Linked DNA regions of Homo sapiens: regions 2, 3, 4, 5, 6 and 7 are each linked to region 1. Evidence: promoter capture Hi-C in 16 types of primary human blood cells and fetal thymus (Javierre and others, 2016). All regions are on one chromosome and are shown on one strand. Each heading gives the region's core, a stretch centred on a gene start or on the middle of the fragment in contact. The rest is flanking DNA. Distances are from core to core; before and after follow the strand shown.

What was found. Contacts are between HindIII fragments. The CHiCAGO score rates a contact against its expected background, and 5 or more counts as called.
Region 2: a fragment that was not itself captured here is called in contact with the fragment with the promoter of GABARAPL2 in region 1 in 2 of 17 cell types (total CD4 T cells and naive CD8 T cells); the score reaches 5.7 in total CD4 T cells.
Region 3: a fragment that was not itself captured here is called in contact with the fragment with the promoter of GABARAPL2 in region 1 in 1 of 17 cell types (fetal thymus); the score reaches 6.0 in fetal thymus.
Region 4: a fragment that was not itself captured here is called in contact with the fragment with the promoter of GABARAPL2 in region 1 in 6 of 17 cell types (total CD8 T cells, naive CD4 T cells, non-activated CD4 T cells and 3 more); the score reaches 6.8 in total CD8 T cells.
Region 5: a fragment that was not itself captured here is called in contact with the fragment with the promoter of GABARAPL2 in region 1 in 1 of 17 cell types (monocytes); the score reaches 5.3 in monocytes.
Region 6: a fragment that was not itself captured here is called in contact with the fragment with the promoter of GABARAPL2 in region 1 in 1 of 17 cell types (neutrophils); the score reaches 6.2 in neutrophils.
Region 7: a fragment that was not itself captured here is called in contact with the fragment with the promoter of GABARAPL2 in region 1 in 1 of 17 cell types (neutrophils); the score reaches 5.3 in neutrophils.

The regions. Positions count from the first base shown.
Region 1 is chr16:75,564,162-75,568,189 of GRCh38, reverse strand. It overlaps GABARAPL2 (GABA type A receptor associated protein like 2), which reads right to left and starts at 1,811. Exons shown (of 4, transcript NM_007285.7): 1 at 1,670-1,811; 2 at 1,283-1,338; 3 at 1-153. The coding sequence starts at 1,703. RefSeq lists an enhancer at 596-1,349 and a silencer at 1,339-1,748. The HindIII fragment of the contact is 5,212 bases long and covers 406-4,028 here.
Region 2 is chr16:74,602,285-74,606,312 of GRCh38, reverse strand. All of the region lies in intron 1 of GLG1 (golgi glycoprotein 1), which reads left to right. Among named protein-coding and RNA genes, the nearest start is that of GLG1, 2.8 kb to the left of the region's middle. The HindIII fragment of the contact is 3,850 bases long and covers 234-4,028 here.
Region 3 is chr16:74,631,607-74,635,634 of GRCh38, reverse strand. It overlaps RFWD3 (ring finger and WD repeat domain 3), which reads left to right. Exons shown (of 13, transcript NM_018124.4): 9 at 2,962-3,112. Among named protein-coding and RNA genes, the nearest start is that of GLG1, 27 kb to the right of the region's middle. The HindIII fragment of the contact is 4,083 bases long and covers 1-3,863 here.
Region 4 is chr16:74,659,010-74,663,037 of GRCh38, reverse strand. RFWD3 (ring finger and WD repeat domain 3) reads left to right here. Exons shown (of 13, transcript NM_018124.4): 2 at 1,587-2,106. The coding sequence starts at 1,589. Among named protein-coding and RNA genes, the nearest start is that of RFWD3, 5.9 kb to the left of the region's middle. The HindIII fragment of the contact is 1,463 bases long and covers 1,467-2,929 here.
Region 5 is chr16:74,679,826-74,683,853 of GRCh38, reverse strand. It overlaps MLKL (mixed lineage kinase domain like pseudokinase), which reads left to right. Exons shown (of 11, transcript NM_152649.4): 6 at 1,068-1,203. Among named protein-coding and RNA genes, the nearest start is that of RFWD3, 15 kb to the right of the region's middle. RefSeq lists a silencer at 1,589-1,787. The HindIII fragment of the contact is 1,819 bases long and covers 1,024-2,842 here.
Region 6 is chr16:75,002,136-75,006,163 of GRCh38, reverse strand. The region is part of intron 1 of ZNRF1 (zinc and ring finger 1); the gene reads right to left. Among named protein-coding and RNA genes, the nearest start is that of ZNRF1, 5.1 kb to the right of the region's middle. The HindIII fragment of the contact is 2,415 bases long and covers 631-3,045 here.
Region 7 is chr16:75,038,807-75,042,834 of GRCh38, reverse strand. All of the region lies in intron 1 of ZNRF1 (zinc and ring finger 1), which reads right to left. Among named protein-coding and RNA genes, the nearest start is that of ZNRF1, 42 kb to the right of the region's middle. The HindIII fragment of the contact is 5,341 bases long and covers 1-4,028 here.

The sequences.
Region 1 (4,028 bases), core at 562-3,061:
ATCCACAAACAGGAAGATCGCCTTTTCAGAAGGAAGCTGGATCCTTTTCCTGATGATCCACATGAACTGAGCCACAGTGATATCAGATGGAACCAAGTACTTCCGTTTGTCAATGTCAACAATCTGAGAGCCTGAGACCTTTTCCACAATCACCTGGGAAAGTAAAGAGAGGTCAGGACTGTGTTTCCTAAAGCGAGGCTCTGGCCTCACATGGCTGAGGAGCTGATGAACAGAGTGTGGGCAAGGAGGTGGGTGGGGAACTGCATAGCAGGAGAAAATATGTCTTTGGCTTAATAAACCACACGCTCTGGAGGTTAAGAATTGATATAAATGTGTTACAGGGAAACAGTAAGTGCTTTTCTGTGGTCAATTATGTAAGAGAAATGCAGCCCTTACCACTAAGCTTTTCCACATTTTATCTGGGCAGACCTAAGAATATCTGGGGAGGGTTTCATCCATGGCCCGTTACTCCAGGACCCCAGAATGGATCCACCTTCACACTACAGGAAACACTACTGTGTTCCCAAGGAACACAGGAGACAAGAATGGATGGACTAATTGGAATGCCTGGAATTTTAGCCAGCCAAGAACCAAGTTCTTCATTTGGCCTGTTGCTCCTCTCTGAACAAGTTTCAAATCCGTCCCTCCTACTCCTTTCCCCAGACAAATTATTCACAAGCAAAGAGCTACAATAACAGGCCTTAATGTCCATTAAAAATTAATAACGATTACAAAACTATCTCCCCAACCATGGAAGAAATATAACATTATATTTATTATTGACTAAGAAGAAAATATGGCAGAAGGGGTTTTCAGCGGCTTTTCACATTATTTTGGTCAGGCAAGGATGACAGGGTCAAGGTGAGATAACGGAGCTAGAAGTTAGGTAAAGATGGAGACAAAGTAAAAGATGAACGTCCTGAGACTCAAGTACCACTTCCAAGACCAAAATGACAGTCTCCCTCCACCACCATTCCCAAAAGTGGCAGTGACCTGTTGCCCTGTCCTAGAACATCGTTCCTTACATAATTGGCCAGGGAGCCCCGAGGCTGCAGACGGCTCGCTGGCCTAGATCGGGAGATTCAGCACTGAGGCACCCTGAACAGCACCAGCCCGAGCCCCTCACGCCCCGGCCCTGGGCGGCCTCATCCCGGTCTGGCCCGTCAGCTACTGTAACTGGGACTGGAACCTCAACTTGTCAACTGTTGAATGGCCTGGGGCCTATCACGGGTCCCAGACGACAGAGGTGACAGCGAGGTGAGGGGGCGGAGAGTCCACTCACCGGAACCCTGTCGGGATATTTCGCTCGAATCTTCGCGGACTCCACGCATCTGTGTTCTGTGGGAGAAACAAACGGGGCTGACGGCCGCGCCTGCCCACCGGTCGGTTCCCGGCCCCCGGCCCTCCTCCTCCTGCGCCCTGCGTACAACCCAGGCCCTGGTTCCGGCGTCCCCGGGGCCGCGGTCCTGTCCCCTACTAGCTCCCAGCAAGGCCCGCGGAGGGTGACATGGGGTCAGGGGGCCGCTGCCCGAGGCACCAGGGCATGGGCGACTCCAGCCCGCAGCAGGGCATCCGCCCCGCTCCACTCGGCCCAGGGCCGCCCGAGTGGGGGAGGGGGCCCACCCGCCGCCCCAGCCCCCAGCAGCCGGGCCGACGACCAAGTGCTTACCCAGCGAGTGGTCCTCCTTGAACATCCACTTCATGGCGGCGGCGGGAAGGGGACGGAACCGGCTCGCGGAGCCGCGGAGCTCAGCGCACCGAGCACAACAACAACGACGGCGGCAGCGGCAGCGGCAGCGACGGCGGCGACTACACGGCAGGCGGGACTTCCGGCTGTCGGAGCCTAGCAACCGGCCGGGGGCGGGGCTTCCGGCGCCATTTGTCAGGGCGCCACGCCAAGGGGCGGGGCCGCACGTAAAGGGGCGGGGCCGCGGAGGACCCCTTTGGGGGCTCCTGGGCTGCGGTGGCGAAGAAGTTGGTTATGGGGACGTCTGTGAGCAGTATCTGCGACATTGCTCGCAGGAATGTTCGGGGAACTGGTGACAGGAGTGGGGTCTCGGGAGCGTTGGTGGCGGAAAACGTCTGGCTGATAGTGTAGGGCTCTTACTGAGGGCTGTTTGGGGGTGTGGCTGATAGCTGAGGGCTCTTAGAGCGGTTCATAGGGGAAGTCTGGGGAATTGGTGACAAGAACGGTCTTTAGGGGTAAGAATGACATAAGGAGGGCTTTCTAGAGCTTGGCGATAACAAGGGAGCTGTTTAGGGCGTTGACAGTTTGGGGAGTATTGCTCGGAGTGGTGACAGGTTGGGGGCTCATTATGGGAGGGGAGGGTGTTTGAGGACACTGTTGGAAGCGGCACTGAGGACAACCCGGAGGTCCGTATTAGGGACAGCCGTAGTAGGTTGTCTTGGACCTAGAAATTGAATTTAAACAAATCCCGTTTTCTTCCTTTATTCGTGAATAAATATTTGAATAAACATTTACGAAAAGGTATCACAAATGCACATTTGAGGCGGGGTACGGTGGCTCACGCCTGTAATCCCAACACTTTGGGAGGCCGACGCGGGTGGATCACCTGAGGTCAGGAGTTGAAGACCAGCCTGGCCAACATGGTGAAACCCCGTCTCTACTAAAAATACAAAAATTAGCCAGGCATGGTAGTGGGCGCCTGTAGTCCCAGCTCCTCGGGAGGCTGAGGCAGGAGAATCGTTTGAACCAGGGAGGTGGAGGTGGCAGTGAGCCGAGATCACACCACTGCACTCCAGCCTGGGCAACAGAGCAAGACTCCGCCTCAAAAAAAAATGCACATTTGAGGAGTGTAACATCACTGATCACAGACCCCTTAATTTTAACTGGCAGAGGAGTTAGAGGTGACTGTCAGACTCGGAGAATTCCCCTGAGAGCTGGTCATGAGATGGGTTTCCTTATTTGGCTGTGGGAGTGGTTTAGCAATCACAGCCTGAGCTGTGTGTGTGTCACCTGCCCGGACATATGCTTTGAGGTTCTCCAATCAGTGATGTAATGCCTTTTTTCCAAGCAGACTCATCAAGGCAGTCTGGTCTGGGTCACCATCTGTTTATAAGCTGCTGAACATGTAGCAGGAATATTCACTTAATTGGGCACATGAACCCTGCCACGTGCTTGTGATTCTGATGCACCTGTAAAGCCTGTATGTTTGAATGTGGTAGTTCATCATTTCCTACACTGGAAATTCCTGATCGATGCTGTGGAATCTAGCTTCATTCTATAAGTATTTTTGTTATTTTAAGACTGTGTGTCTGAGTAACTAGAATAGGTTTTTTTGTTTCTTTGTTTTTGTTTTTGTTTTTTGGAGACAGGGTCTTTCTCTGTCACCCAGGCTGGAGTTCAGTGGCACAATCTTGGCTTACTGCAGTCTGCCTCCTGGGTTCAAGCGATTCTGCTGCCTCAGCCTCCTGAGTAGCTGGGACTACAGGGACACACCACCACACCCAGCTAATTTTTGTATTTTTGGTAGAGATGGGGTTTTGTCATGTTCGCCAGGCTGGTCTTGAACTTCTCACCTCAAGTAAGTGATTTGCCCGCCTCGGCCTCCCAAAGTGCTAGGATTACAGGTGTGAGCCACTGCATCTGTTTGTTTGTTTTTAATGAAGTGGAAAAAATCCTTTGAATTTCCTACTTAGAAATTATTGTTACATACAAGAGCTCTGTGCTAGGTGCTGGGGAAAAACAGTGAAGAAGACAGATGACATCCCTATTCTCATGGGTGGCAGCATGAGATATTCTTGTCCCCCTGACATATTCTAGTGGGATAAGACAAAAAATAAGTATGTTAGGTAATGATAGGTGCTATTTCGAAAAATAAAGCACAGTAGGTGACTAGAGAGTGTGGTGGGATGGAATGCTAATTAGATAAAGTGCCTGGCATATTCTAGGGAACCCCTGTGGCTGGAGCTGAATAAATGAGAGAGGAGAGTGTGTTATGAGACAAATTCAAAGATATCTAGAACAAAACTGTGTTGAGCTTTGAATTCCATGCAAAGAGCTTTGG
Region 2 (4,028 bases), core at 909-3,408, 960 kb after region 1:
TTGCCATCAGTTTCGACTAGGACAATTTGTGGCAAGCCATTTAAACATAAAAAAATGCCTGGCGTACTTAGGCTGTAAAGAATGATCTGTTTATTAGCAGTAGATGTAATTCGCAAATCCATATTTTTGGTGCTGAAATTAATGTATGCTTTGTTTTCTTCACTTCCTTTGGTCAGTTGTATTGAACCCCATGTTTAAGCTGTTAACTCCCAGTGACTTGGCGCCCCAAAGCTTGAAAAGTTGGGGAAGCGTTTGAAGCTGTGTTTGTGACTGGGTTATGGGATCTTGCCTTTCTGAGGTCTGAATGTGATTTTAACAGTATCTCTTAATGAAATCTACATTTGTCGTTGCTTGGTGTGATTCAGTTGAGTGACATTGATAATTTATAATCAAGTGACATTGATAATTTATAATCTAGGTTTAATGCTGCAGACCATAATGACAATTCTCAAAGTTTGGGAGCAAATCTGACAGTAGTAACTTTTTCCAGAGGTGTAGGTATATAAAATTAGCCCTAAAGGTGGACAAATAGAATGAAGCTACCACTTGATACTGTTTTTGGTTTTTTTTTTAAATATCAGATTTGTTTAAGGCGTTCAAGCTATAGCAAGACCACTTGCTTGTAGAAATTTGCTTCTCTTGGCATTTCCCCCCTTCATCTCGTGTTCTAGTATTCTATACAAAAGCAATTCAGATAGAGGAAAAGACATACATAAGCAGGAGACAGAAAGAAAGGAAGTTTCCAGAGCCCCTAGAAATGTGAGGCCTTACCTGACTTCTCATCTTCAGCTTAACGACTAGAGGGATAGTCCTCTGGTAGATACAGCTAATATTCCTAACTCTGTCGAACTTTTTGGAATTTTCTTTTCGCTCTTTGAGGACACATAATAGATGTCGTTTCATCAAACTAGGATCCTAATACTGGTGACCAAACAATTAGTAGTAGTTTGTGGTAGAAACAGCACATTATTAGGGAAAGTGGCAAAAAGTGGCCTATTCAAGGAGTGTATATATCCTTCATGTGTATTCCGGACATTTGGAAACCTCCACTTAAAGGAGGCAGTTTTATGCTCCAGAGGAGGAAAGGCGTCATATAAATTGGAAATGGGGGTTTTGGGGGGTTGGGGGGAGGTGGAGGGACCAAATTTCCAATTTAATGTTTTTTCCTCCAGTTTTTACATACAGAAATAATGAAGGAAGAGTACTGTGAACACCTATGTGTATTCTTCAGGAGGTGGAGTTATTTTTAAACTTCTTTTCTTTTTTTTGAGATGGAGTCTCACTCTGTCGCCAGGCTGGAGTGCAGTGGCTTGAACTTGGCTCACTGCAACCTCCACCTCCCGGCTTTAAGCAATTCTGCCTCAGCCACCTGAGTACCTGGGACTACAGGCGAGCGCCACCACGCCCAGCTAATTTTTGTATTTTTAGTAGAGACAGGGTTTCACCATGTTGGCCAGGATGGTCTCGATCTCCTGACCTTGTGATCTGCCAGCCTCGGGCTCCCAAAGTGCTGAGATTAGTGGTGTGAGCCACCACCCCCACCCTATTTTCTTTTTCTTTAAAGACAGCGAAAGGAAATTTCATTCTGCTTAGTCTGGGAGTTAATTAAATCTGATCTATGTGTTTGAAAGAGCATAACTTAAAGAAGTAAACTAGTTAGGCACATTTGAAGAAACATGTATAGAATATGTTTTGTATTTGCTGTTCAGTAAGTAGAACTATTTGATAGTGAAATAGATATATGTACTTTTCTGTCCCTTTGCATGCAAATGCAGGGAACATTTTCCTATCCGTACCCATTATTGGAATTATGAAAAGGCAGAGCATATGAGTACAGTTGTTCCTTGGTATCACTGGAGGATGGTTCCAGGCCTCCTGCAGATATTGAAATCCAAGGACGCTCAAGTACCTTATACCGTATAAAATGGTGTCGTATTTCCATATCATCTGTGCACACCCTTCCGAATTCTTGTCTTCTCTAAAATACTTGTGATACCTAGTACAGTGCCTACATATCAGTTCATTCATGTGGATTCACTGTAGTACTTGGCATATGTCAAACTTAACTTTTGCTTTTTGGAACCTTATGGAACTTTTCTTTCTGAAAAAAAATTTTTTATTATGGAGACAGGGTCTCGCTCTGTCATCCAGGCTGGAGTGCAGTGGTGCAGTCATAGCTCACTGCAGCCTCAGTCTTCTGGGTTTGAGAGTTCACTGAAGCCTCCACATTCCGGGTTCAAGTGATCTTCCCAGCTGGGCTTTCCAAAGTGCTGGGATTAGAGTTGTGAGCCACTGTGCCTGGCCTTGGGATTCTTTTTTTTTTTTTTTAACGCTCTCGGATGAGTCATGCTTTTAAAAAGGCCAAGTATATCATGGGTCCACTATGAAATAATAGATGTAATAGCCAGTAATGGTGTGTTAGTAGTCCTAGTTGTGTGTGTATAATTATTAGTAGTTCAAGTTATTTAAATAAAAACAAAAAATTAGAAAGTGTAAGGCAGAAAAGAAAAAATATTCCCTGGGCTGTTCTAGTAGGTGGAGTAATAATACCAAAGAAAGAGAAGATACTGTTGCTTAGTATGTGATAAGGAAGGCATGCTTGATGTTGTCAGTCATTTTAAAATACTTTACTTATTCTTGGTTGAAATGGCCAGTAGCACTTTTTTTTTTTCCACTAGTGTCTTGTATTTCGAAGTTTCAGATGGAGACCTTGGTTCCTTAGAAGTTTGTGGTGTTCAGCCGGGCGCAGTGGCTCACACTTGAAATCCTAGCCCTTTGGGAGGCTGAGGCAGGAGGATTGCTTGAGCTAGGAGTTCAGTACCAGCCTGGCAACATAGTGAGACACCGTCTCTAATAAAAAGTTTGTGATGTTCATAGATTAGATTTTCTTTTTTTTTTTTTTTTGAGACGGAGTCTTATTCTGTTGCCAGGCTGGAGTGCAGTGGTGTGATCTCGGCTCACTGCAACCTCTGACTCCCTGGTTCAAGCAGTTCTTCTGCCTCAGCGTCCCAAGTAGCTGGGATTACAGGCACGCACCACCTCGCCCAGCTAATTTTTGTATTTTTAGTAGAGACAGAGTTTCACCATGTTGGCCAGGATAGTCTTGATCTCCTGACCTCATGATCTGCCCACCTTGGTCTCCCAAAGTGCTGGGATTACAGTCATGAGCTATTGCGCCTGGCTGCTGCTGCTGCTGCTGCTGTTGTTGTTGTTGTTGTTGTTTGAGACGAAGTCTTGCCCTGTTGCTCAGGCTGGAGTGCAGTGGCACAATCTTGGCTCACTGCAACCTCTGCCTTCTGGGTTCAAGTGATTCTCCTGTCTCAGCCTCTTCATCACCTTGGCCAGGCTGGTCTTGAACTCCTCACCTTAGGTGATCTGCCTGCGTCGGCCTCCCAAACTGCTGGATTACAGGCATGAGCCATTGTGCGTGCCCCATAGATTTTCTTACACAGAAGTAGAGAGAATAGGGTAATGAGTCCCTGGGTATACATCACCCAGCTTCAACTGTTCCCACCCTTTTTTTTTTTTGAGAGACAGAGTCTCACTCTGTCACCCAGGCTGGAGTGCAGGGGCACGATCTTGGCTCACTGCAACCTCAGCCTCCCGAGTTCAAGCGATTTTCCTGCTTCAGCCTCCCAAGTAGCTGGGACTACAGGCATCCGCCACCACACCCGGCTAATTTTTGTATTTTTTAGTAGAGACAGGGTTTCACTATATTGGCCAGGCTAGTCTCGAACTCCTGACCTCGTGATCTGCCCGCCTCGGCCTCCCAAAGTGCTGGGATTACAGGCGTGAGTCACCGCGCCCAGCCCCGCCCTTTTATTTTTAGGGCACAGGGTTGGGAGGCTGGCATATTTAAAAGCAAATCCCAGATACTGTCATTTCAAATACTTCAAGCATGTCTGTGATAAATACTTTTTAAAAACTAGAAGGTTTTTTTTGTTTGTTTTTGTATTTAAATGTATAATCTTTCTTTTGCAAGTAATTCTGACACTAAAAAGAAAAACATAAAAAAATTCTTTCTTGCC
Region 3 (4,028 bases), core at 573-3,072, 930 kb after region 1:
AGCTATTTCCTAATGTTCCCCAAATTGGGAATGTGTTCTGTTCTTTTTTTCTTAACGTGTCCATTCCAGTCCGCTTGATAGTGTGCTGGTGTTGATTTGTCCTTGTTCCCCTTAATGATTAACTCGGTGTGTATTTCTGTTACCTTGTTGATTTTTTTTTTTTCTTTTGAGATGGAGTCTCACTCTTTTGCGCAGGCTGGAGTGCAGTGGCCTGATCTCAGCTCACTGCAACCTCTGCCTCCTGGATTCAAGAGATTCTCCTGCCTCAGCCTCCCAAGTAGTTGAGACTACGGGTGCATGCCACCATGCCTAGTTAATTTTTTTTTTTATTTTTTATTTTTTTTATTTTTTTGAGATGGAGTCTCGCTCTTTCGCCTAGGCCGGACTGCAGTGGCGCTGTCTCTATCTCGGCTCACTGCAAGCTCCACCTCTCGGGTTCATGCCATTCTGCCTCAGCCTCCTGAGTAGCTGGGACTACAGGCGCCCGCCACCACACCCAGCTAATTTTTTGTATTTTTAGAAGAGACGGAGTTTCACCGTGTTAGCCAGGATGGTCTCAATCTCCTGACCTCATGATCCGCCCGCCTCGGCCTCCCAAAGTGCTGGGATTACAGGCGTGAGCCACCGCGCCCGGCTATGCCTAGTTAATTTTTGTATTTGAAATGGGGTTTTAACATTTTGGTCAGGCTGGTCTCCAACTCCTGACCTCAGGTGATTCACCCATCTCAGCCTCCGAAAGTACTGGGATTACAGGCATGAGCCACCATGCCTGGCCACCTTGTTGATTTAAAGCCTATACCTGCGCCCCCCTTCCCCCCTTTTTTTTTCCTCTCTGGCTGTCTTAATTCTGCTAGAAGAAAGTACAGTAAGCCACGTGCTTGGTTCCCTGGAGAAGCTGAAGCTATCTTGAATCTAGGATTTGACGTATTTTTAAAGAATTTAACTCAAGTGGGCACAGTGGCTCATGACTGTAATCCCAGCACTTTGGGAGGCCAAGGCGGGAGGATCGTTTGGGCCCAGGAGTATGAGACCAGTCTGGGCAACATAGTGAGACTCCATCGCTATAAAAAAAATTTTTCTTAACTAGCTTGGTGTGGTGGCACACCTCTCTGGTCCCAGCTACTTGGGAGGCTGAGTTGGGAGGATCGCTTGAGCCTAGGAGATCGAGGCTATTGTGAGCCATGATGGTGCCACTGCACCTTAGCATGGGTGACAGAGTGAGGCCTTGTCTCAAAATATATATATATATATATATAAAGTACTTAGTAAAAAATAAATGTTATCATAGCCTAGTAAGAGAACAGAGTAACAAGAAGTTTTAAAAGGTTATTGGTTTTTGTTGGTTATTTTCCCCCCACTTCAGTAATGTGGGTACTTGAAATGTCATCTGTTTCATTTCATTTCAGACAGATGTGACATATCTTGACTGACAAATTATTTATTTTCATTCTCTATTGTTCACTATTCCTTCTGCATCTGGAGTGTCTGTGGTTCTGGTGAAATATTCTGTCTCTCAACAGCTTTATTGAAGTAGAATTGACAGAGAGTAAACTACATATTTAAAGTATACAATTTGATGACTTTTAACATATGTAATACACCCCTGAAACCATGACTACAATCAAGATAACTTTAATTTTTTTTTTTTTTGACAGAAGATCTAGTTCTGTCTTCCAGGCTGGATGCAGGGAGGGGTGTGATCTCCCGGGCTGGAATGCAGGGAGGGGTGTGATCTCAGCTCATTACAACCTCCGCCTCCTGGGCTCAAGTCATCCTTCCACCTCAGCCTCTTGAGTAACTGGGACTACAGGCTCGCCCCACTACGCCCAGCTAATTCTCATATTTTTTGTAGCAACAGGGTTTCACCATATTGCCCAGGCTGGTCTCGAACTCATGATCTCAAGCGAGCCACCCACCTCAGCCTCCCAAAGTGCTGGGATTACAGGCGCGAGCTACCATGCTTGGCCATGAACATATGTATTACCGCAAAAGTTTCCCTATGGCCTTTGATAATCTCACCTGCCCCTCCCTCCTCTCCCATCCCCAGCAGTCACTGCTTTTTGTCACTACAGATGAGTTTGCATTTTCTAGAATTTTACATAAATGGAATTATATAGTGTTACCATTTTTTGGTCTGACTTCTTTCTCGCTGCATAATTTTTTATTGTATATATTAGTAGTTAATTCCTTTTTAACGGGTGGTATTCCATCACATGTTTATACAGTAGGTTTGTTTATCCATTTACCTGGATGTTTGGAGTAGGTTATACTTTTTCTTTTTTTTTTTCTTCTTCTCTTCATTGTCATGAAGCAAGCATGGGTTGTACTTTTTTTTCTTTTCTTTTTTTTTTTTTTCTGAGACGGAGTTTTGCTCTGGTTGCCCACGCTGGAGTGTAGTGGTGCAATCTTGTCTCACTACAACCTCCGCCTCCTGGGTTCAAGCGATTCTCCTGCCTCAGCCTCCTGAATAGCTGGGATTACAGGAACTTGCCACCACGCCTGGCTAATTTTTTGTGTTTTAGTAGAGACAGGGTTTCACTGTGTTGGCCAGGCTTGTCTTGAACTCCTGACCTCAGGTAATCCACCTGTCTCGGCCTCCCAAAGTGCTGGGATTACAGAGGTGAGACACCATGCCTGGCCTGGGTTGTACTTTTTTAAATGAATCATAGGCCAGGTGTGGTGGCTCATGCCTGTAATCCCAGCACTTTGGGAGGCTGAGGCGAGCAGATCACCGGGAGGCAGAAGTTGTAGTGAGCTGAGGTTACGCCACTGCATTCCAGCCTGGCCAACTCTCAAAAATAAATGAATAAATTGTAACACTAGAGAATTTTTGTTTGACCAGCTGGTTCCCAAGGACTTATACGCCAAGAAAGGTGGACGAAGGAGCTACTTGAAAAACTAGTTTGAATTGCCCTAGGTTCACTTTCAGTGATCTATTTCATACTATTTTGCCTTTTTCAGGCTTTGGTGTTAAGATGTTGAGTACTGCCAACATGAAGAGCAGTCAGTACATTCCGATGCATGGCAAACAGATCCGTGGACTGGCGTTTAGCAGTTACCTCAGAGGCTTGCTACTCTCTGCTTCCCTAGACAACACTATTAAACTGACCAGGTGAGTGATTTGGGGAAGTAGGTGGAGACTGGGCTCTTTGGTGTTGAGTAGCATGGAATTCGTATCGGTGTTATGATGACCTTAGCTCTGTTTTTTGTTGTTGTTGTTGTTTTGTTTTGTTTTGTTTTTTTGAGATGGAGTCTCGCTCTGTCACCCAGGCTGGAGTGCACTGGTGGGATCTCGGCTCACTGCAAGCTCCACCTTCCGGGTTCAGGCCATTCTCCTGCCTCAGCCTCCCGAGTAGCTAGGACTACAGGCGCCTGCAACCATGCCTGGCTAATATTTTCTATTTTTGTAGTAGAGACGGGGTTTCACTGTGTTAGCCAGGATGGGCTCAATCTCCTGACCTCATGATCCGCCCGCCTCGGCCTCCTGAAGTGCTGGGATTACAGGCGTGAGCCACTGCGCCCAGCCGACCTTAGCTCTGTTTTTTTTGGTCTGAGACTGTGTCTTCTGAGATCCATTTAAAATATATTGCTTTTAGAAGTGGGCACAGAAGGTTACAAAACTGTATGTTTCCTGTTTCTTTGAAACTATGTATATTACAAAATATGTCTTAAGTATATTTTAAGGAGATGAGAATAAAACTCTAAAGTTGGTGGAGACCAGGCGTGGTGGCTCACGCCTGTAATCCTAGCGCTTTGTGAGGCCGAGGCAGGCAATCAGCTGAGGTCAGGGGTTTGAGACCAGCCTGGCCAACATGGTGAAACCCCGTCTTTAAAGTTTGTGGAATGACAGGATGGAGGAAGCTTTGGTGCCTGACATCAGAGTCGCCATACCAGGTTGGTACTGTTTACTCCTGGTCCTGGTCTGTTACCTGGATAATTCTGTGTAACAGAGATGTTCACCAAGCACTCACTGCCCTTGAGTACCATGATGACTTCTTTTATACCCTTAGTCACAGCGTTTTATCTGT
Region 4 (4,028 bases), core at 949-3,448, 910 kb after region 1:
AGCTACTCGGGAGGCTGAGGCAGGAGAATGGCGTGAACCCGGGAGGCGGAGCTTGCAGTGAGCCGAGATCGCGCCACTGCACTCCAGCCTGGGCAACAGAGCGAGACTCCATCTCAAAAAAAAAAAAAAAGAAGCATGACCATTCTGAAGATTCTTAAAGCTGTCTGTTTGTTTTCATCTCCACTGCTACCACTCTTGCCTAGGTCTCTCTGACCTCTGGTCTGGACTCCCACAATAGCCTCTACACTGGTCACCTAGCTTATGCTCTTGCACCCCTACAGTGCATTCCTAACATAGAAGAAACTCCTTACCAAGGCCCATAGGCCCTTTAATAATGGTGTCCTGTTCATCAGTGAAACCCATGCTCATCAGGGACCTATGCACTGATTTCCTTCTGAGACTCTTCTTGGCTCTTTGCATAGCCAGCTGCTTTTAATCCTTCATGCCTCAGCCCAATTTTCACTCTTTAAAAGAGTACTTCCCTCACAATTGTGTCTTAGTTGGTCCTCTTTGTCTCCTCAACCCCAAACATCATAATCTATAATTTTTTTCATGTATTTGTTTATTGACATCTTACTTGCTAGAATCTAAACTCTGATACATGGGGTCTTATCTGTTTTTGCCTCTAGGGTGTCTTGTCTGCATAACAGGTGCTTAATAACTATTAGTTGAACCCCCATTTCCTCATAAGTCAGATGAAAATAAAAGCACGTGCCTTACTTCACAAAGTAATTAAGGGGATAAGTTATACTGATGTACTTTAAAAACTAGGTGGTAGGGAGGCACAGTGGCTCAGTCCTGTTGTCCTGATGCATGAGGAGGTAAGGCCAGGCATTCAAGACCAGTTTGGGCAACATAGGAAGCCTTCATCTATATAACAAAAAAAAATTTTTTTTTTTAGTTTAAAAACTAGGTGGTAGTTTTCAAACTGATACAATGGAATTAAAGATAGGAAACATGAAAAGAACATAGGTGCTTAATAAATATTTGTTGAATACGCTAACATGATGGAATTAGAGATGGAAAACAAAAATAATGAAAGGGATAGGATAAAGTTTGCTCAGCCTTTTTGGAAACATTAGGTAAGTTTCCATTTTGAGTTAGTAACAGTTAATTTTGCAAGTGTAAAAAATGTCCTTTCTCTATTTATCCCTTGTAACTGTTGATGCTGTGAAAGATTAATATTGCCTGCTAAAATTAGATACTGCATTATATGCATTTGATTTTGGTGAATGTCCATATTCAGCTTGAGAGAACTGCAAAGTGTCTGAGAGATTACTTTTAGACCCAGTAGTTTAATCTCCTTGGTTTATAGATCTTTCTATTTTGGAAGATACTACTATGATCACAGGACTTCATGTTTTCTAAGGGCAAACCGGAAAACTGGTTATAAATGCTTGTTATAGAGAGGAAAGTCCATTACCAAACACTTCTGACTTAAGTAGTTAAAATCTTCTCTTGAAGCTTCTCAGTCTTGCTAAGAATGATATTAAACATAAAATCAGAAAGATTAAATATGATTCTGTCACCTACATAGCATGTTTTATCTATTTTATTAATACTTTTTACAAATACTGTTTCTCTAGTGATGGCTCATGAAGCAATGGAATATGATGTTCAGGTGCAGTTAAATCATGCCGAACAACAGCCAGCTCCTGCTGGCATGGCCAGCAGCCAAGGGGGACCAGCCCTCCTCCAGCCTGTTCCTGCTGATGTGGTCAGCAGCCAGGGGGTACCATCCATCCTCCAGCCAGCTCCTGCTGAGGTGATCAGCAGCCAAGCGACACCACCCCTGCTCCAGCCTGCTCCGCAACTGTCTGTTGACCTGACAGAAGTGGAGGTCTTGGGAGAAGACACTGTGGAGAACATCAATCCAAGAACTTCAGAACAACATAGGCAGGGATCTGATGGTAATCACACCATCCCAGCATCTTCGTTGCATTCAATGACCAACTTCATCAGCGGACTGCAGAGACTTCATGGCATGCTGGAATTCCTGAGACCTTCATCTTCAAACCACAGTGTAGGGCCAATGAGAACAAGAAGGAGGGTATCTGCTTCACGGAGGGCAAGAGCCGGAGGGTCTCAGAGGACAGACAGTGCCAGGTAAATAAATATATGGATAAGTCTGTGATCATTGCTGTACTAGAAATTATGAAACTGAGGCTCTGCCATTCAAGGACTGACAGTGTGACTTTTGGCAAGTCAGGTAACTTCTGACCCCCAGTTCCTCATAGGTGGAAATAAAAGTGCTTGCCTTACTTCACAAAGTAATGAAGGGATAAGTTAAACTGTTGTGCCTTGAAAACTAGGTGGTAGTTTGTTGGCAATCTCTGTAGAGATTGGCTGTTGTTCAGATTGTGTCTTGTACACCAAAAATTCTTTCTTCACTTGCAAGTCTCTACTCACCCAAATTCATTATTCACTGGCATTCCACCTGGGGGCACAATTAATTAATTTTCTTTCATAGTCTTGGTTTGAACTTGCCTCTTGAAGGGCTTAGCTGTCAAGTCTTGACAGGGTTATTATGAAGAATAACAATTGCCTATACCCTGTCCGTTTTTTGGTTTTTTGTTTTTGTTTTTGAGACAGCGTCTCACTCTGTCGTCCAGGCTGGATTCCCGTGGCACAATCTTTGCTCACTGCAACCTCCATCTCCCAGATTCAAGCGATTCTCCTGCCTCAGCTTCCCCAGTACCTGGCATTACAGGCGCGTGCCACCACACCTAACTAATTAAACCTGTCTGTTTTTGGTTTTGTTTTGTTTTGAGATGGAGTCTCACTCTGTCGCCCAGGCTGGAGCGCAGTGGTGCGATCTCCGCTCAGAGAGGGCTTTGTTCAGGGTCTCATAACTATAGAATAGAGGAGTTAGCACTGATATTGGAGCCTGGATCTGCCCTGTTTTCTACATAGGCAGATGGAGGAAGCTTCGACGAAATCCCTTTGTTTTCTCTTTCTTCTTGTTTTTATTATTGTTATTTTTGAGACAGGGTCTCACTGTGCTCCCCAGGCTGGAGTGCAGTGGTGCAATCACAGCTCACTGCAGCCTCGACCTCCCCAGGCTTAGGCGATCTTCCTACCTCAGCCTCTTGATGATTAACTGGGACTACAGGCATACGCAACCATGCCGATGTTTTCTAACACTGTGAAAATATTGAGATGATACTAAAAAGTGGTAGCTAGGTCATCTATTACCCATGTTTTACAAATGAGGAAGCTGATGGGATAATTTGTGATTTGGTTGTGATAAGGCTGGAATTGGAATTGTGCCTTCTGTATCTGGATTCAGCATTCTTTTTCATGGATCCTGCTGATTTTAATGTTGGGGCTTGCCATGACTGTGGCTCCAGTGTCTGTAGTGCCCATCAAGGATGACAGATGCCTAGTTCTGTGTTGACAAGAGTTGCAAATGCATATTACTCTGGGTTTTTTTTTTGTTTTTAAGACAAGAGTCTTGCTCTGTCACTCAGGCTGGAGTGCAGTGGCGCAGTATCAGCTCACCAGGACCTCTGGCTCCCGGGTTCAAGCGATTCTTGTGCCTCAGCCTCCTAAGTAGCTGGGATTGCAGGCGTGCACCAGCAGGCTTGGCTATAGTCTGTTGTTTTAAGATGTCATTACTCACGTTATAAAGGCAGGGTAAGATTTCATACATTTGTGTTATAGGTGAAGGCACCTTATGGTGTAATTTGGGGACCCTCCCAAAGTAAATGGGCTAACTTTCCATGGTTGAGAGTTGTGAGTGGTGTTTCCAGGAGCTGGCTGACTGTCAGGAGGCCTCTTGCAAGTCCTCAGTCTTGCTTATCCATGCACTCATTCTTGTTGGGGGACGCAGAGTGGATTCCTCTTGGTCAAGCACAGTGACTTGTATTAACCAACTTAAGGGTGACACTTATAAACCAGATGCCAACTTACAAAGAAAAACAGAACCACTAGAGAGCCAAACAGAAGCCAAACTCTAGTGAGAAAATTGCTTGATGTGGCTGGGCATAGTGGCTCACGCCTGTAATCTCAGAACTTTGAGCGGCCAA
Region 5 (4,028 bases), core at 684-3,183, 880 kb after region 1:
GAATGGGGAAGTCGACTTCTTGTCTGAGTCCTCACCCGCCCCTGCCATGTGTGCCCTACTCATTCCTCCCACACAGATGTACGAAGCTTCTTGTGAGCACCCATGTGAACAAGACAGACACATTTCCTGCCTTCTTGGGAATCCAGTTGAGTGAGGAAGACATTCGCCAAATAACTGCTCAAGAAAATTTTGAATTATACCAAGAAAGGGAGATAGAAGTTAAAAAAGAAAAAGAAAAAGAATTTTTTTTTTTTTTTTTTGAGACAGAGTCTCATTCTGTCACTCAGGCTGGAGTGCGGTGGTACAATATGCTTACTGCAGCTTCCACCTCCGAGGTTCAAGCAATTCTCCTGCCTCAGCCTCCCTAATAGCTGGGACTACAGGCATGTCCCACCACACCTGGCTAATTTTTGCATTTTTCATAGAGACGAGGTTTCATCATGTTGGCCAGGCTGGTCTCGAACTCCTGGCCTCAAGTGATCCACCAGCCTCAGCCTCCCAAAGAGCCAGGATTACAGGCGTGAGTCACCACACCTGGCAGAACATTTTTTTTTTTTTTTTGAGATGTAGTGTCACTCTGTTGCCCAGGCTGGAGTGCAGTGGTGCAATCTCTGCCACGCAGCTTCAAGTGATTCTCCTGCCTCAGCCTCCCAAGTAGATGGGATTACACGCACCTGCCACCACACCCAGCTAATTTTTGTATTTTTAGTAGAGACATGGTTTCACCACGTAGGCCAGGCTGATCTCAAACTCCTGACCTTGTGTTCCACCCACATTGGTCTCCCAAAGTGCTGGGATTACAGGCATGAGCCAACGCACCCAGCCAATTTTTTTTTTAAGGTAGAATTACGACAAGCCAAGTATTATGGAGAAGAGGATGGGAATTCTGGGCATATTTGGTCCATTCAAGGAGGCCGGGGACCAAAACTGTGGGCTGAGGATTGGGGGAGAAATGGGACTCAGCAGAGCCAAGTCTGTATCTGTACCGAGGCTGGGAGAGGTGGGCTGCAGACATGGGAAGCTTCAAGTAGGGCGGGTCCTCATAGTGTCTGGCTCCTTTCCACCAGTGACTCCGCCTCAATTCTCCATTGTCATGGAGTACTGTGAACTCGGGACCCTGAGGGAGCTGTTGGATAGGGAAAAAGACCTCACACTTGGCAAGCGCATGGTCCTAGTCCTGGGGGCAGCCCGAGGCCTATACCGGTAAGACGGGGTGAAAAGGCGCCACTAAGGGTTGGATGGGTCTGTCCACACTCCTGATACTCCCAGAGATGGTGAGAGAACAGGCCAGACGCCCCAGACAGTCTCCCTCCCATACACTGTTTTACTATTTACTCTGATTACAGATAGGAGGGAGGAAAGAGGCTTAACCCAGGGAACACCAGCTCCCAGAACTGACGGTTGAAATTGATGTCCACACTGCACTTATAGAGTTGGATGAGCCCTAATTTTGGAGTGGACAGATTTAGCATAAAAATGAACATATCCAGTTAAATTTGAACGTTAGGAAAGTAATGAATCATTTTTTAGTATAAGTGCATCCTAAACATTGCATGGTATATACTTATACTAAATATCAAAAATATCAAATTTTATTTTATGTTTTGAGACAGAGTCTCACTCTCTTGCCCAGACTGGAGTGCACTGATATGATCACAGATCACTTAACCTCCCGAGCTGAAGGGATTCTCCTACCTTAGCCTCCTGAGAAGCTGGGACTACAGGCGCACACCACTACACTCAGCCAGTTTTTTTTTTATATATATTTTTTGTAGAGATAAGGTTTTGCCATGCTGCCTAGGCTGGTCTCGAACTACTGGGCTCAAGCAATCCTCCTGCCTCAGCTTTCCAAAGTGCTGGGATTACAGGCATGAGTCACTGCACCCAGTCTCAAATTTTGGATAAACATTTATTTTTAGTACAACTATGTCCTATACAATTTGTGGGCATGCTTGTACATATATATATGCGTGTACGTGAATCTATATATTCATTGCTTATCAGAAACTCAAATTTAATGGAGTGTCTTGTGTTTTTTTCTTTTCTTTTTTTTTCTTCTTGAGATGGAGTCTCCCTCTGTTGCCCAGGCTGGAGTGCAGTGGCACGATCTCGGCTCACTGCAACCTCTGCCTCCCAGGTTCATGCCATTCTCCTGCCTTAGCCTCCCGAGTAGCTGGGACTACAGGTGCCTGCCACTACGCCTGGCTAATTTTTTTGTATTTTTATTAGAGACGGGGTTTCACCATGTTAGCCAGGATGGTATCGATCTCCTGACCTCATGATCCACCTGTCTCGGCCTCCCAAAGTGCTGGGATTACAAGTGTGAGCCACCGCGCCCGGCCGTGTCTTGTGTTTTATTTGGCAACTCTACCTATTCTCACCTGCAGAATCTATGGATTCTTAGTCCCAAGGGTCCCCAAAGGTTAGTCACTCACAAACCATCTGCAGGGTTTTAACTATACTACTACCAGTGTTATTTACTTAACATTTTTCATTACATTGACTCACTTTTTAAAAATCGGAATAAAGGCCTGGCCCAGTGGCTCACGCCCATAATCCCAGCACTTTGAGAGGCCAAGGCAGGTGGATCACTTGAGGTCAGGAGTTGGAGACTAGCCTGGCCAACGTGGCGAAACCCTGTTTTTACTAAAAATACAGAAATTAGCCCAGCATGGTGCCACAGGCCTGTAATCTCAGCTACTCAGGAGGCTTGAGGGACAAGAATCACTTGAACCCAGGAGGCGGAGGTTTCAATGAACTGATATCGTACCACTGCACTCCAGGCTGGGCGACAAAGCAAGACTCCATCTCAAAAAATAATAATAATAATTGAAATAAAGCTTTTAAAAAGGACACTTTCTCTTACTACCATAAATTGAAAACCAGTGTCACTTGCCAAAAATAGGTAACCACAAATGAAACCAAAACAATGTAATTAAATTCTGGCTGGATGAGGCTGCCTGCCAGAAGCTCTGTGATCCAACCCACATTCTCTTTGTACAATGGAGATATTGGAGATATTGGCAGAGTTAAGGATACCCAACACCAAGGCTGGGCGCAGTAGCTCACGTCTATAATCCCAGCACTTTGGGAGGCTGAGGCGGACAGATCACAAGGTAAAGAGATCAAGAGCATCCTGCCCAACACGGTGAAACCTCGTCTCTCCTAAAAATACAAAAATTAGCTGGGCGTGATGGCACGCACCTATAGTCCCAGCTACTCGTAAGGCTGAGGCAGGAGAATCGCTTGAACCTGGGAGGCAGAGGTTGCAGTGAGCTGAGATTGTGCCACTGCACTCCAGCCTGGGCGACAGAGCGAGACTCCGTCTCATAAAAAAACAAAAAACAAAAAACAAAAACAAAAAAACAAAAAAAAAATACCAAACGCAGACTTTCTTCTTGATGTAATCAGAAAGACTGGAGCAAACTGAAAGGAGAGTAATTTTCCCTTTATATAATCTTGCATACCACCTTATCCCACACTTTTGGAAACACTGTCTTAGCTATTAATTTGAAATTAAGTTTGTTTCTTCTCAACTCCCTAAACTAGTGAGTTTAAGGAGAAGTATTTTTGGATGTTGTAGGGGACACTGTTAATATCCCCTCCAAATGACCTCTGATCCTTTTTACCAGCTCTATTTACCCATCCCCCTCTCGGCATGCTTTGCTGCTGAAAGTTCACAGCTGCAATCTTCAGAGGATTGCCTGTGGGCACTGGAGCCCTTTCACCCTTATAGACAGCTGAAAGTGCCCACGAGTTTTATATCCATCTGTCCCTGCCCTCCCCAACACAGTCCATAACCACTGACTGGTGTAAGTATAAAAGTCCAGTTCCTTTGCTTCCTGTGGGACACACTCTGAGGTGTAATTGTGCCCACAGGTCTCCGCGAGACCACCTGAGCCTGGGATTTCACCTGAAATCAACCTCTTGCTTGATTTCTTCTCCTTCGCCATCCTACTTCCTGTACTCCCTCAACCATTTCTCCTGGGAGCACCTTCTTTTTGTTTGTTTGGGGGACTTTTGGAGTT
Region 6 (4,028 bases), core at 589-3,088, 560 kb after region 1:
GAGGTCTAAAATATTAAGATACCATGACGCACCACCCTACATGCATGGGTCAACAAGCAACTGCATACATGATGGTGGTCCCGTAAGACTATATCCTGTACCTTTTCTATGTTTAGACACACAAATACTTACAACTGTATTACAATTGCCAACAGTGTTCAATACAGTCACATGTTGCACAGGTTTGTAGCCTAGGAGCACTAGGAGCAACATATAATCTAGGTATGTAGCAGGCTATACCACCTAGGTCCGTGTATGTACACCCTATGATGTTTGCCCAGTGACAAAATCCCTTAATGACCCATTTCTCAGAAAGTATCCCTGTCATTAAGCAATGCATGACTGTACTTTCGAGACAGGGAGAGAGAGAGAGAGAACACATTCACATAACTTTTATCACAGTATATTGTTATAATTGTTCTATTATTAGTTACTGCTGTCGAGCTTTTATTGTGCCTAATTTATAAATAAAACTTTATCAAAGGTATGTATATACAGGAAAAGACATAGTAGATATAGGGTTCAGGTGAGGTACTATCCACGGTTTCAGGCATCCACTGTGGGTATTGGAACGAATCCCCTTTGGATAGGGAGTAACTACTATACTCAAATTTCTGTGCCCAATAAGCTTGGGGTGAATACCACATATGTAAAATACAAAGCATGTTCCTTTTCCCAAAAGGAACTAGAGCTTGCTTCATTTCTTTGGCTAAGAATGGCCTAAGTATTCCTTGTGACATGATATATTGAGGTGGGTCTTTGTTTAATATCAAAATGTAGTATCCCATAAAGCAAACGCTTTAAGAGCTAAGCCACTGTTTCTTACAACACCATTCAAACCTCAATAAGCAAGAGTTAACTATGACCTTCAAGAAATTATCTTTGCCTCGGGGTAACTTTTGTATTTTAAGAAAATAAGCCCTCATGGTAATAAAGAGCTAAAAATTCTGCTTTTTAATACAAGTTTTCATTAACAATAGAACTTTTGCAGGGCAGGAGACCCATCATGCTCTTTGGAGACCACAGAATGCTTTTCCTTCTCCAGAAACCATGTGAAGGCCCATTACTTCTAGCACACCTATGGCGGGACACAAAGGCTTTCTGATTCACTCCAAGGGAGCTGGCAATTCTCCCCCATTAGCTAACAATAAAAGAAAATTAAATCACTTGAGAACCCTACAGTGGCAGCAAAATAGAGCCCAAGAGATACCTCCTAGCATGTTCAAAGACTTATTAAAAGCCACGTTGGGCCAGGCGTGGTGGCTTATGCCTATAATCCCAATACCTTGGGAGGTTGAGGTGGGAGGATTGCTTAAAGCCCGGAGTTTGAGGCCAGCCTAGGCAACATAGTGAGACCTCATCTCTACAAAAGATTGTATAAAATTTAGCCAGGTGTAGTGGTGCGCACCTGAGTCCCAGCTACTCTGGAAGCTGAGATGGGAAGACGGCTTGAGCCCAAGAGTTTGAGGCTACAGTGAACCATGATTGCACCATGGCACTCCAGCCTGGGCAACAGAGCAAGACCCTGTCTCAAAAATAAATAAATAACAAAAACAAAACACAATCACCTTGTATCAGTCTCAGTTGATGGCTTGATGACAATAAAGAACAGTTTAGACTTTCTGAAAGTGCATACATATATATACACATATGACTAAGAAGGTGAAGTGAAGCCCTCAATGGCCAGCCCTTTTATAGTAGAACCTAGAAAACAGCAACTTCTTTCAACATGGTGGATGGTGCATGTTTTGTACCCCACATTTAGAAATCCATACTCTGAGACAAACAGAACTACCGAAAGAGAATGACCAGGCCTCCAGAATAGCACCGAGGCAGCCATCAGGAGTTATAGCAAAACTTTTTAACGTGGAAAGGGAGTCACTCTGCTTCTATAAAGCAGCCCTTATCAGCGGCATTATGAGTAAAAGCAGCCCACTAATGCAGGCCAGACTTTAGGACACAGAACCAGATTCCATTTGGGGGCTACAGCTAGCACAGCTGTAAACCTCTCTCCACCCATCAAATTCTGAGACCATTAGGCCTGGCACGGTGGCTCATGCCTGTGGTCCCAGCACTTTGGGAAGCCAAGCTGGGAGGATCAACTGAGCCCAGGAGTCTGAGACTGCAGTGAGCTATGATCTCGCCACTGCACTCCAGCCTGGGTGACAGAATAAGACCCTGTCTCAAAAGAAAAAAAAAAAAAATCTGAGGCGATTGAAGGCAGACAACTATAAGAGAGTGCCCCCATAGGAACTCCACCACTCTCCATTTAGAATGTCCTTTGACTTTTGTGCACATTATCTCATGAGACCCTCACTATGACTCTGAGAGGTAAGCAGGACAGGCGTCTTCTACATTTTACAGATGAATAAATTGTGACTGAGGTTAAATGACTCGCTTGCCCAAGGTCACAAATCATGCAGCTAATCAGCTGCCTAACCAGGAGATGAGCCTAGCACTCTGACTCGTAGGCCAGCGCAATCTCCAGGACACCATGCGGCTTTGTGATGTTTTCAGATAAGAGGCGGAAGAGGGTACTGGTTAAGAGCCCAGGTTCTGGCACCAGCCAACCTGCATTCCAATCCCATCTCCACCACCTACTAACCACCTGATCTTGTGTGAGTTCCTTAACCTCCCCAAACCTGTTTCCTTACCTGCACAATGGGGGTGGGAGAGAACAGTCTTACTCCATAGAGTCAGAGTGATGATTAAGTGAGATGATGAACATAAAGTACTCAAATTCATGTACTCAAAAAATGTGAGTGGCAGGCACAGTGCAGGACCCACAACAGAGATCAAGGAACACAGTCCTGCTCTCACGGAGCTTAGACTTTAGGCAAACCATACACAGAAAAAAGTAAACAGATAAAATACTTACAAAGTGTGTTAAGAATGATTAAGGTGCAGGGCGCAGTGGCTCACGCCTGTAATCCTATCACTTTGGGAGGCCGGGTCAGGCAGATCACCTGAGGTCGGGAGTTTGAGACCAGCCTGATAAACATGGAGAAATCCCGTCTCTACAAAAAACAAAATTAGCCCCAAGCTTATTGGGCATGGTGGCGCATGCCAGTAATCCCAGCTACTCGGGAGGCTGAGGCAGGAGAATTGCTTGAACCCGGGAGGCGGAGACTGCAGTGAGCAGAGGTCGCACCACTGCACTCCAGCCTGGGCAACAAGAGCGAAACTCTGTCTCAAAAAAAAGAATGATTAAGGTAACAGGTGAGTGACTGGAGAGAATAACCGGAGGGGCCAATTTTTAAGAGTGGTCTCTAAGCCCTAAGGGATCAGAAAGAGAAATTCGTGTGAAGAACGGAGAGAAAAGCACTCTAGGATTAGGGAATGGTATACGTGGGGGTCACAGCACAGGGAAGTCAGGAACCTAGAGAAGACAAATGTGACTACAGCGCTTCCTCTCCCGGGATTTGCGGAGCAAGGCTGGAGCTCGTGAGGGTGACCACAACTATTTTAAAAACGACAAAGATAAGGCTCAAGAGAGGGGATATGTCTTGCCCAAGGTCACAGCTGCTCAGAGGAGTAGCTGGGACCAGGGCCCTTCAGTATTCTACCTCCAGACCCAGCCTAAGCCCACGCTCTCTGAGAAGGCCTTGTATACACTGAACTCCCTCATGTATTTCACTGACAACTGTTTTCTGTGCCCATGAAGAGTTGCAAGAGCACCTTGAAAACACAAGCAAACATATCATATCAACTTCCAGGCATCTAATTAATTGTGCACCAAAATCGTTACCCTTCCAATCTTGCAACAGAAGAGCAAAAGCTGCTTAGACCTTACTCAAAGGCTCCAAAGCAGAAACAAGTTTTGCTTCTTGCAGCAATGTGTAACAGAGGAAACAGATGTCCTGGAAGATCCCATGGTCTGTTTCAGGTGAGATGGAACCAATGCTGCACACGAAGATTCATCTCAAATGAAATGCACAGGAAAAGCCAATTACTTTATGTGAATAAAAGAATAAATCCCTAAAGCAGTGGTTCTCAACCAGAGTGATACCACCCACACCCCAGAGGGC
Region 7 (4,028 bases), core at 927-3,426, 530 kb after region 1:
CAGGCCCTCTGTGAGAGGTCACAAGGACCTCTGAATGAAAAAATATCAGGATTCAAAAACCATTCTGCAGAAATCAACAGGCTGATCCTAAAACGTACATGGAAATGCAAAGGACCTAGGATAGTCAAAACCCAACATTATTTTGAAAAAGAGGAACAAAAATGGAGACTGTACACTACCCAATTTCAAAACTTATCATAAAGTTACAAGTAACCACAATAGCAACAGACACATAAATCAATGGAACAGAATTGAAAGCCGAGAAATAAACCACTACATTTATGACCAGTTGATTCTGCCAAGGGAATTCAGGAAGAAAGGATGGTCTTTTCAACAAATGATGTTGCTACAACTAGAAATATGTGTGTTTACAAAAAAAAAAAAAAAAAAAGAAAGAAACAGACACTCCCTCCCTCATACCATATCCAAAAATTAACTCAAAATGGAACACAGACATATGTAAGAGCTAAAACTATAAAACTTCTAGATGAAAATAGGAGAAATTTTTGTAACCTTGGTCTAGACACTTTTTTTTACATATACCAAAAGCATCATTCATAAAAGCAAAAAATTGATAAATTAGACAACCAAAATTAAAAATGTTTGCTCTTCCAAAGATACCATATAAGCAAATAAAAGCACAGGCCACACATTGGGAGAAAATAGTTGCAAATCATATCTGACAAAAGACATATTCATAATACATAAACTCTTACAACTCACTGACAAACAACTCAATTTTTAAAAATGAGGATATACAGAAAATCATTGGACCTTCCTCTTAATTTTGCTGTGAACCTAAAACTGCTCTATTAAAATAATTAAGTCTTTGTTTTTTGAGACGGAGTTTTGCTCTTGTTGCCCAGGCTGGACTGCAGTGGCATGATCTCAGCTCACTGCGACCTCCGTCTCCCAGGTTCAAGTGATTCTCCTGCCTCAGGCTCCCGAGTAGCTGGGATTATAGGCGTCTGCCACCATGCCCAGCTAATTTTATATATATATATTTTTTTTTTTAGTAGAGATGGGGTTTCACCATGTTGGCCAGGCTGGTCTCGAACTCCTGAGAGAATTAAGTCTTAAAAACAGAAAACAACAAGCAAGCAAAGATTTGAATTGACATTTCACCAAAAAAGATAAGTGAATTGTTAAACACATGAAAAGGGATCATCACTAGCTAACGAAATACAAATTAAAATCACAGTGAGGACTGGGCACGGTGGCTCACGCCTGTAATCCCAGACCTTTGAGAGGCTGAGGCGGGCGTATCACTTGGGTCAAGAGTTGGAGACCAGCCTGGCCAACATGGTGAAACCCCATCTGTAACAAAAAATACAAAAATTAGCCGGATATGGCGGCATGCACACGTAGTCCCAGCTACTCTGGAGGCTGAAGTGGGAGAATCACTTGAACCCAGGAGGCAGAGGCTGCAGTGAGCTGAGATCATGCCGTTGCACTCTAGCCTGGGCGACAGGGTGAGACCCTGTCTCAAAAATAAATAAATAAATAAAATAAATTAAAATCACAATGTGGTACCACTACATACCTACTAGAATGACTATAATCCGTAAGTCAACAATACACGGTGTTGGCAAGGATGTGGCAAAACTGGAACTCTCAACCATTGCCCATGAAAATGTAAAATGTACAGCCACTTTGGAAAAGGCTGCCAGTTTCTCAAACGTTTAAACACAAACTTCTCATATGGAATCTTATGTCCACATAAAATCACGAACATGAATGTTCACAGCAGCATCATTCATAATTGTCTTAAGCTAGAAACAATCCAAAAGTCTATCAGCTGGTGAATGGATAGACTGACTGTGGTAAATTCATATAATGGAATACTATTTAGCAATAAAAACTACCGATGTCAGCACAAACTACTGATACATACTCAACACATATGAACTTAAAAACATGGTAAGTGGGCTGGGCATGGTGGCTTATGCCTGTAATCCCTGCACTTTGGAAGGCCAAGGTGGGTGGATCACCTGAGGTCAGGAGTTCGAGACCAGCCTGGCCAACGTGATGAAACCCCATCTCTACTAAAAATACAAAAAATTAGCTGGGCATGGTGGCGCGCACCCATAATCCCAGCTACTCAGGAGGCTAAGCCAGGAGAATCACTTGGACCCAGGAGGCAGAGGTTGCAGTGAGCCGAGATTGCGCCACTGCACTCCAGCCTGGGCAACAAGAGCAAAACTCTGTCTCAAAAAAAAAAAAAAAAAAAAAAAAACCCACAAAAAACAAAAACAAAAACATGGTGAGTGAAGGACACCAAACAGAAAATAATACATACTGTATGATTTCATTTATATGAAATTCCCAGAAAAGGCAAATCTAGAGAGATAGCAGTTGCCCGGTGGGGAGCAGAGATTGACTAAAAACAGGCATAGGAACTTTCTGAAGTGGCCCTTTCAGATGTGGTGGTTCACATCCGTAATCCCAGCACTTTGGGAGGACAAAGTGAGAGGATTGCTTGAGCCCAAGAGTTTGAGGCTGCAGTGAGCTACAGTCTCACTACTGTACTCCAGCCTAGGTGGCAGAGTGACGCCCTTGTTTTAAAACAATAAAAATAAAAAAAGGACTTTTTGAGAGATGGAAGTGTTATAAAATTGGATTTTAAGCCATGCGTGGTGGTGCGCGCCTGCAGTGCCAGCTACGTGGAAGGCTGAGGAAGGAGGATCCCTTGAGCCTAGAAGGTCAAGGCTGCGGTGAGCTATGACCATGCCACTGTACTGTAGCCTGAGTGACAGAGTAAGACTCAAAAAAAAAAAAAAAAAAAAAAAAAAGAAAGAAAAGAAAGAAACAAAAGATTTTAGTGATGGTTTCATAACTATATATTTACTAAATCTCATTGTACATTTATAATGTATGAATATTATGGTATGTCAACTATACCTCAGTTTCAAAACAGTAACAACCAATATCCCACAACATCTGGAGGATCCCTAACTGCAGGTTCCTATATACAGTGAAAATCTTTTGGGATACTTTCTGGTAGAACTGTAGTTTTCTGGCAAAGAACTATGAAAGGGATTTCTCTATTAACAGTGCTTCTTCAACAACAGCACACGTAAGAATCACCTGGAACACCTGTTGACAGACCAACCCCTCTCTTCCCACTGGATTCAGTAGGTCTGGGGTGGGGCCCATAAATCTGCATTCCTAAAAGCTCCAGGACCAGTCATTAAAAACAGAGATTTCAAAGTCTCACCAGAGATGTATTATATCCAAATCTCTAACAAAGGGGAACCTGGGAATCTGTACCTCTTACAAGTATCAGGGAGAATCTTATGATTGATCTCATGGTTTAGTACTCCATGAGCTACAACACTCTCGTATACCATTAACTCCAAGGATTTTTATAAGTAGTTTCAAGAGTAAAATCTGTGTGTTCCTGGGTTGAAAATGACCAAGTAAATTATCTGTATTTTAAGTGGTTCTAAAGTCTTTAGGGTTCTGCCTTTGGCCTCCCTAAATAAAGCAATTTGCAGGAAAGCAACTTATATTTATTCACAGTATTCTAAATATGCTTCCACATTAAAAAAAAAAGTTTTCCAAACAAATTAAAAATAATAAATAAAACAGAAAGTTTTTGCCATTAAAAACATTTAGGCCACTTTTCAAGTTTAGTCTAATTTTAAATCTGTTCATTTCAAAACCACATTTTTTCTATATTTTTAACAGGGGTATGTAATTGTTAGATCTATAGGAACTATTAATTCTGCACAATTCTGATAGGCACTGAGAACAGCAGCAACAGTGCCATTTTCAATGGTTCAATTCAAGGATTTATCACATACCTACTGGAATGTAATGCTGTGCTTAACACAGAGATTAAACACAGAAGAAGATATGGTTCTTACCAGGAATTCACCAGTGATTATAAAACAATAGTACTCAACATCACTGTATACTGGAGCAGATGGGGAAATTTTACAGAAGTAGGACTGTGTCCTAGAAAAAAAAAATAACAGCACTTAAATTATTTTCAATTTCTCTTATCAGTATGGCTCAAAGGAGTG